Linked DNA regions of Homo sapiens: region 1 is linked to region 2. The links are contacts of gene promoters, found by promoter capture Hi-C in human tissues and cell types (Jung and others, 2019). All regions are on one chromosome and are shown on one strand. Each heading gives the region's core, a stretch centred on a gene start or on the middle of the fragment in contact. The rest is flanking DNA. Distances are from core to core; before and after follow the strand shown. Region 1 has its middle 10 kb from the start of LINC00895. Region 2 holds the start of GSC2 (goosecoid homeobox 2).

What was found. Contacts are between HindIII fragments. The study calls those that stand out against the background at their distance.
Region 1: a contact is called between a fragment that was not itself captured here and the fragment with the promoter of GSC2 in region 2, in 1 of the 25 tissues and cell types used here (lymphoblastoid cells).

The regions. Positions count from the first base shown.
Region 1 is chr22:19,575,155-19,579,169 of GRCh38, forward strand. No RefSeq gene overlaps it. Among named protein-coding and RNA genes, the nearest start is that of LINC00895, 10 kb to the left of the region's middle. The HindIII fragment of the contact is 6,571 bases long and covers 1-4,015 here.
Region 2 is chr22:19,148,964-19,153,027 of GRCh38, forward strand. It overlaps GSC2 (goosecoid homeobox 2), which reads right to left and starts at 1,329. Exons shown (of 3, transcript NM_005315.2): 1 at 1,062-1,329; 2 at 700-953; 3 at 1-132. The coding sequence starts at 1,320. The coding sequence ends at 28. RefSeq lists an enhancer at 281-780. The HindIII fragment of the contact is 19,488 bases long and covers 1-4,064 here.

The DNA.
Region 1 (4,015 bases), core at 734-3,233, 430 kb after region 2:
AGTTTTGCAGGCTGGGCTCCTCCAAGTGGAATTGCTAGGCTAAAGGGCATGTACCTTTTAGAGGTTTTTGTTTGTTTGTTTGTTTGTTTGTTTTTTGAGATGGAGTCTTGCTGTGTCACCCAAGCTGGAGTGCAGTGGCGCGATCTCAGCTCACTGCAACCTCCGCCTCCCGAGTTCAAACAATTCTCCTGCCTCAGCCTCCCAAGTAGCTGGGATTACAGGCATGCGCCAACAAGCCCAGGTGATTTTGTAGTTTTAGTAGAGACAGGGTTTCACCATGTTGGTCAGGCTGGTCTTGAACTCCTCCTGACCTGTAGTGACCCACCCGCCTTGGCCTCCCAAAATGTTGGGATTACAGGCATGAGCCACCACGCCTGCCCAACCTTTTAGAGTTTTAACAGATGTTGCTCCGTGGCCTGAGAATGCCTGTTTCCCCACACTTTCTCCAGCACTAGATTTAACCTAATCTGTTGGGTGAAAAAGGTTGTCTTATTGATGCCTTAATTTACATTCTATCCATGACTTGCAACTTTAAGCATCTTTTAAAATGTTTATTGGTTACAGGCAATCTTCATGAGAACATTGTATCCTCTGTCTGTTTTTCTTTTGGGTTTCCTTTATTTTTCCTTAATGGAGTTGAAACAGTTCTTTGCAGGATCTGGCAGTTGATTGACAGCTTCTTAATTCTAAGAATGCCCCCAACTTAAAAGCAGCCCTGGAGGGTCCCCTTCTTCCGTGTCACCCCCAGTGTCTTGTGTGAGTTGTCACCGGGCCCCACTTGTTTTCCTCTGAAGCATTCTGACAGCTCTGCTCGTGGCCCCTGCGTTTAAGAGACATGCTGGGCCGGGCGCAGTGGCTCACGCCTGTAATCCCAGCACTCTGGGAGGCCGAGATGGGTGGATCACGAGGTCAGGAGATCGAGACCATCCTGCCTAGCATGGTGAAACCCCATCTCTACTAAAAATACAAAAAATTGGCCGGGCATGGTGGCAGGCGCCTGTAGTCCCAGCTCGGGAGGCTGAGGCAGGAGAATGGTGTGAACCTGGGAGATGGAGGTTGCAGTGAGCCGAGACTGCGCCACTGCACTCCAGCCTGGGTGACAGAGAGAGACTCCGTCTCAAAAAAAAAAAAAAAGAGACATGCTGCAGGCCAGGCATGGTGGCTCATGCCTGTAGTCCCAACACTTTGGGAGGCCAAGGCGGGCGGATCACTTGAAGTCGGGAGTTTGAGACCACCCTGGCAAACATGGGGAAACCCCGTCCCTACCAAAAATACAAAACAGCTGGGCGTGGTGCCTGTAATCCCAGTTAACTCGGTAGGCTGAGGCAGGAGAATTGCTTGAACGCAAGAGGTGGAGGTTGCAGTGAGTCAAGATCATGTCACTGCACTCCAGCCTGGACAAGAGTGAGATTCTGTCTCAAAAAAAAAAAAAAAAAGAGAGAGAGAGAGAAACATGCTGCTGCAGAGCACCCCTGCAGTGTTCCCGAGGTGTGAGGTGACAGAGCCCTAGTCTCTGATTCTGTGACAGCTTCAGAGGGTGACACTCTGTGTCGGGCCCAAAAGGGCTCCCCTGGGCTGTCAGTGATGAGCTTCTCTGGTCACCTTTGGGGGGTGCCGTAACCTCACCTCTGTTCAGTTTCTCAGATGGCCAGTCAGGGAAAAGAGTGGCCATCAACATATCATGAAAATGTTCTATTTGAAAATGCAGAGTACAGTTCCTGGGGACACGGGGATCTCCCAGTGCTCGGTGCTTCAAGACCCTGGGCAGTTCATATTAGACAATGTCACAGGAAGGTGTGAGTCATTCTGGGCGGTTGCTAGTGTGCCGTGCCTGTGGGCTTGGTGCTGGGGAGGCCAGGCAGGCTTGGTGGTGGGGAGGCCAGGCGTGGGAGTGATGCTCCTGACTATGCCTTCTCTCCCAGTCACTCCTTTCTGGGTTTTGTTAGGGGAGGGGGTGTCTAGGGCCCAGGCCATCACCAGAAGCTTGGCCCCCTGCTCTTGCTTCTGCCAAACACTCCACAGTTCAGCTGGAAGCGCCCTCAGGGTTGTCCAAGCTGCCTGCAGTTGGTTGTGCCTCCGACTGGCTCTGGCCCCGCCTCCCAGCCTCCGTAGCTGGTTCCTGAGCCCTACTCCTGGGGCCGCCAGCCTCTCCTACTTCCCTCCTCTCTCTCTGCTTGCTTTGCAGCAGCTTTACTGAGATATGATTCACATACCCTACAATTCACCCCTCGGAAGAAGAGTTCTTAGTAGAGTTTTCCATCATTTTTAGTCTGTTCACAGAGTTGTGTAACCATCACCATCCAGTTTAGAATATTTGCATGGCCCCAAAAGAAGCCCAGTACTCATGAATCAGTCACTCCCATTTCCCCCTCACCTACCTCCTCTCTCAGCCTCTCCCAGCCTCTCACAACCACCAGTCTACTTTCTGTCCCTATGGATTTGCCCTTTCTGGACATTTCATGTAAGTGGAATCAGATGGTATGTGGCCACTTGTGTTTAGAGTGGTGAGCAGAGCCCAGGCTGCGGCAGACATCCAGACCAAGGCGGTCTGGGCCAGGTGACAGCCTGGCTAGGGTTTGGCGAGGTCAGTTCCTCCTGCCTCCGTGGGGCCCATGAGCCGCAGTCCCCAGGGATGCATCCGGAGGGCATCAGAGGCAGGACGCCGAGCAAGCTGATACCCAAGGAGTCACAGCCACCCTGGGAGCTTAAAGGGCCGATGCAGGGATTGGGAGGCCGTGGTCTGGGTCAGTTGGGAACTGGGGGTGATCAGGGATGGCCACTCATAGAACCTCTGGATCCTGTAATCTAGAGAGACACGGAACATGAGCTCCCCTGTTGGTGTCTCTCCTGAACCCATTCCCTCAATATAGACACGCTTCTCCTTTGATGTTGTAGACAGTCTGAGATATATTCTACTAATTTTACCAGTTAGGCTTTCCGTGAATTGATGCCTTGTTAAAGTTCTCTAGAGGGTTTTGACATTCATTTTCATTCATTCACATCTTAGGGTGAATTATTTTAATCTAGGTACTTTCTTCCTAACAGAAGAATCAAGTTAATGAAACTGGAAGTCCCTAGTCTCCTTAGATTTCATAATTGGCCTCACAATGTCACAAGAACCCTGATCCTGGCACTCGTCCTATCAGGTGCTGTGCAAGGGAAGCGCTGTGAGTGACAGAGCAAAGCCAGGCATCTTTCAGTCAAGGATTTTCTCTCCAGTTGTGTGCAAGATAAGAAGTGACTGACTCTGTGTAGCCAGGAGGCTGAGGCAGGAGGATGGCTTGAGGCCAGCGGTTTGGGACCAGCCTAGGCAACATAGTAAGACTCGGTCTCTACAAAAAATTTAAAAAATATCCGGGTGTGGTGGTGCGTGCCTGGGGTCCCAGCTGCTGGGAATGCTGAAGCAGGAGGGGATTGCTTGAGCCCAGGAGTTCGAGGCTGCAGTGAGCCATGATTGCACCACTGCACTCCAATCTGTGTGACAGATGAGACCCTGTCTCTTAAAAAAAAAAAAAAACCAAAACCAAAAACAAAAAACCACCTCTCTAGATTATGTTGCTCCTCTGCTCCACACCATGCTGTGGCTTCTGTTCACAGTCAAAGGTCCCAAAGTGGCCATGGCCTGTGCTGCCTGCTGCCGCTCTCCACACCCTGGCCGCTCGGTCCCCAGGAGACCAGGCATGCTCCTGCCACAGGGCCTTTGCACTGGGTGCTCTCTGGGTCTGGAACAGGCCCCACACCCACTCACTTCCCCCAAGTCTGCTCAGATGCCACTTCCACACTTCCTAACAAAAGGAAGCTGTTGGTGAGCAGATGCTCAGTAACTTATGTGTGGCCAGAAGGAGCGAGTGGCTCCAGCCTGCGCGTGGAAAGCTGGCTCTCCTGGGTCACTGCTCTCACTGAGCCTCGGGTTTCTGCTGCCCAGAGGACTGCGTGGCTCTTTCTTGTACCTGGCAGTTCTGACACTGCTGGAATTGGGAAGAAAAGGGACCCTGAGACTAGGTCACTCCCTCCT
Region 2 (4,064 bases), core at 79-2,578:
CGAGCCCAGGGGCAGCTCCTAGAGTCATCAGCAGCTCCCCTTCGGGGACTTCTTGACGCCGGGCAGGAGCCTCGCGGAAGCCGACGCGCGCTTCTGGTGTCGCCATTTGGCCCGGCGGTTCTTGAACCAGACCTGGGGATGGGGGGAATGCTCAGCCCTAGCCCCAGGTCCTGCGTCCCACCGGCTCCCGAGGGTCCCACAGGGACCGAGAGGGGAGCTTCGCAACAGGGATGTGGGCGGACGGCGCTGTAGAGCCGACACCCGGGCCGCGGCTGCGCGCCACCTGCCCTTATTCGCTGCGGACAGACTCGGTGGGTCTGGACGCGAGATGGGAACCCCCTTAGTACCCGCCCCAGCCTCCAGCTGGCGGCGACCAGGACGCCCCTTCTTGGGTTGCGGGCTCTTCTGAATTTCCCAAATTCTGGACGTGAACGCGGGCCTCTTTCGTCACCAGAGGAAAGTGTAAAACAAAAGAAAAGAAAAGTAGCCCTCCGGTTCCTTTCCCGCGGCACCTCCCTGCTCTCACCCGCTCCTCATACCCCCGGACGCCCAGCGCCGTCCAGGGACCTCCTCCCTCCGGCGCGCCAGGGCGGGGCTTGGGCCGAGGCCGTCTTTGCAAAGGGCGCCCGCCCGCCAGGACCCCAGTCCAGTGTAGCCGCGGCCCGCGCGCTCCGGGGAAAGGCTGGGCGGGGCACTCACCTCCACGCGCTCCTCGCGAAGGCGGATGCGGCCGGCCAGGCGCTCGCGCGTACTCACGTCAGGATACTGGTTCTGCACGAAAAGCGCCTCGAGCGCCTGCAGCTGCTCTTCGCTGAAGATGGTGCGGTGGCGCCTCGTGCGCCGCTGCGAACCCGGGCCGACCGCGCCCGGGAGCGCCCCGGAACCTCCGGCTGGCGCACCCAGAGACAAGGGCACCGCCGGTCCCAGCCTCAGCGGCCACGCCAGACGAGCGCCTGCGGAGCGAGGGCGCGGTGAGGCGCGGGGCTGGGGCCAAGCTCGGCACCCACTGCGCCGCGCCCCGGGCTCCGCCGGGCCCCGCGCCCCGCTCCGCGCCCACTCACCCAGCCCGGCGGCCGCCTCTGGGGGCCCGCAGGGCGCCGCGCGGGGGCCGCAGCAGCAGCAGCAGGCGCAGGGCGCAGCCTCGGGCGCCCCGGGCTCCTCTGGCTTCGCGGGGCTCTGGCGACCGGCGGGCTGCGGTGGGCAGGCGGCCCGGGCCGGGAGGCTCCGCTCGGGCAGGCTGGAGAGGATGTGCTCGATGGAGAAGGGGCAGGGCCGCCCGGCACCCCGGCGGCTCGCCGCGCCCCCAGCCGCTGCCGCCATGCCCGGCCCGGCCGGGGCGCCGCCGCCGCGGGAATATATACGTCGGGGAGGGAGCGCGCAGTAATCCCCGGGCCGGGCGTCCAGTCCACGCGGGTTAATCCCGCAGCGCCGGCCGCGAACGCGCTAATCCTCGACTGCGGCGGCCCTGCCTCCGCGCGCGGGGGCCGGGGGCGCTGCAGAGAGGGCCCCCTGTGCCCCCCACCCCGCCCCGCGTCCTCCTGCCCCACCCGCGCCCGCCGCTCAAGCTGGCAGGGCGACCTGCGGGGAAGGGGCGGAGGGCCGCCTCGCCGCCGCCCGCGGGGCCTGGCAGCCGCTCGGAGGGCGCCCCGACCCTGGCAGCTCCCCAGAGCGCGGCGGTGCCTCCCGGCCCAGCCTCTGGTGGCTCCCCCTCGTTCGGCTGGGCCTAATTCCTCGTCCCCTCTGGGGCCCTACTGCGGCGGCTCAGCACGCCTGCAGAAGCTCGGCCTAGCCGCCCACCCGAAACTCCTGGACCGCAGCCTCCATGGGGCCCAGCACCACCGGCAACCGCACGATCCCGCCGCGCTCGGGTCCCGAACCTGCCCGCCACCTCGGAGCCAGGGTCTCATGGCCCTGGAGGGCGTGAGAGCGCGGCAGGAAGCCTGGGCTGCCGGGTGCCCCCAGTTCTCCGTCTCCTCACCTGTGTCAAGGAGACCTCCCCGCCCCTTCCGAGGCCCCTCCTCGGTGCTTCAGAGCCGCCTGTCCTCCAGCTTTCCCACTGGTCCCAGAATCCCCGCGAAAACATCCAACACTGCACCTCGCCCTTCCCCGCACTGTCACTGCCCCCCAGAAGCTGTGGGCTCCCCCTCCTCGCTCTCCGCCCAGGCCAGTCCTCTGGCCACACCGTCCTCGGTCCCTTCTGCCACAGCGCAGGTGACCCGCACTTGGCTACATTGTTTCACCCTCAGTGAAGCGGCTCCTGGCAGCGGGACCGTCACTTCAGCTTAAGACCCTTTCCTCTTGACCTTTGAAAATACAGTATGGGACTCATAGCACAGAGAAACAGACGGCCTGGCTCATACTCCGTTGTCAATTTCTGGCCGTGTGACCTCCATAGGCGTCTTCAGCCTCTGGGCTTGGCTTTCCCAATCTGTAAAGTGTAGTGACTAGGTGTGAGACGGTTAGAACCTGGCCGCCTCCCCAGGGCAATGCGTATTCCTGCGCTCCTCCCGCCGCCAGCCCCTCTGCAAGACTCTGCCATCCCCACTCTGCTATCAGTGAAAGTGCTGTGGACATCACTGTGACCGAACCTGCTGATTTAATTTCTGTCACAAGAGCTCCCACATAGGTTTCCCAGGGGTAGTCTGGAGGCTCAGTGATGAGCTGCCACCTCCATGAGTGGCTCTGTCAACCCCTCCTCCACCCACCTCTTGGTGGTAGAATGGCTGCCACAGCCCCACACTTTTCATCTCCTCCCATGGCCCTTTGGATGGCCATGGATCCCTCCTCCCTCAGCAGACCTCCCTCACAGAACTGCATCTGGACCATCCTCCAAAATCAGAGTGCTGCTATGATGGGGGAGGCAGGGTCATTGGTCAGGAGAGCCAGCCCAACATTTGCTGAGCCCTCTTCCTCCTAGCCCTGGCCATTCCTTCATCCTTTCCCATTCTCACCCTCAATACCTATTCCAGCCTTGGAGCTCCAGACACCATCTTTGTGACAGTGACTCACAAGTGCACCTCCAGCCTGGCCTCTCTCTCTGCTCCACGCTCTTGTTTCTGGAGCCTGCTCCACATCTCCATCTCCACTACCAATAAAGTTCTCCCAGTCACCATGCCAGAAAGGAACTCAAGGTCTTCTCAAAATCCCTTTCTTACCCTATGTTCTCCACTTTTACAAATGGGCCACTGCCCACCTGTCCATCTCTAGTGCTCATTCTCTTCTACCTATTTGCCTCTGCGTGTGCCCTGCCTCTTTACCAGTCCACCTTGGTAAATGGCCCACTGTGGCACTTTTTCAAAAAGTTTATTTTCTATTTTGCATTATTTTTTGAGACAGGGTCTTGCTCTGTCACCCAGGCTGGAGTGCAGTGGTGTGATCATGGCTCACTGCAGCCTTGGCATCCTGAGCTCAAGTGATCCTCCTGCCTCAGCCTCCCAAGTAGCTGGGACTACAGGTGCACCACCATGCTCAGCTAATGTTTCTGTTTTGGGGGGGTTTTGCCACGTTGCCTAGGCTGGTCTCAAACTGCCGAGCTCAAGCAATCCGCCTGCCTTAGCCTCCCAAAGTGTTGGGATTACAGGCATGAGCCACCGTGCCTGCCTGGCCTGCCCCCCTCCCTTTTTTTTTTTTTTTTTTTTTTTTGAGACGGAGTCTCGCTCTGTCGTCCAGGCTGGAGTGCAGTGGCATGATCTCAGCTCACTGCAAGCTCCACCTCCCGGGTTCACGCCATTCTCCTGCCTCAGCCTCCCGAGTAGCTGGGACTACAGGCGCCTGCCACCATGCCCAGCTATTTTTTTTTTTTGTATTTTTATTAGAGACGGGGTTTCACCATGTTAGCCAGGATGGTCTCGATCTCCTGACCTTGTGATCTGCCCGCCTCGGCCTCCCAAAGTGCTGGGATTACACGCCCGGCCTTTTTTGTTTGTTTTTTTACTTTTGAGACAGGGTCTCGCTCTTTCACCCAGGCTGGAGTGCAGTGGGTGACCATAGCTCACTGCAGCCTCTGAACACCTGGGCTTAAGAGGTTCTCCCACCTCGGCCTCCCAAGTAGTTGGGAGCACAGG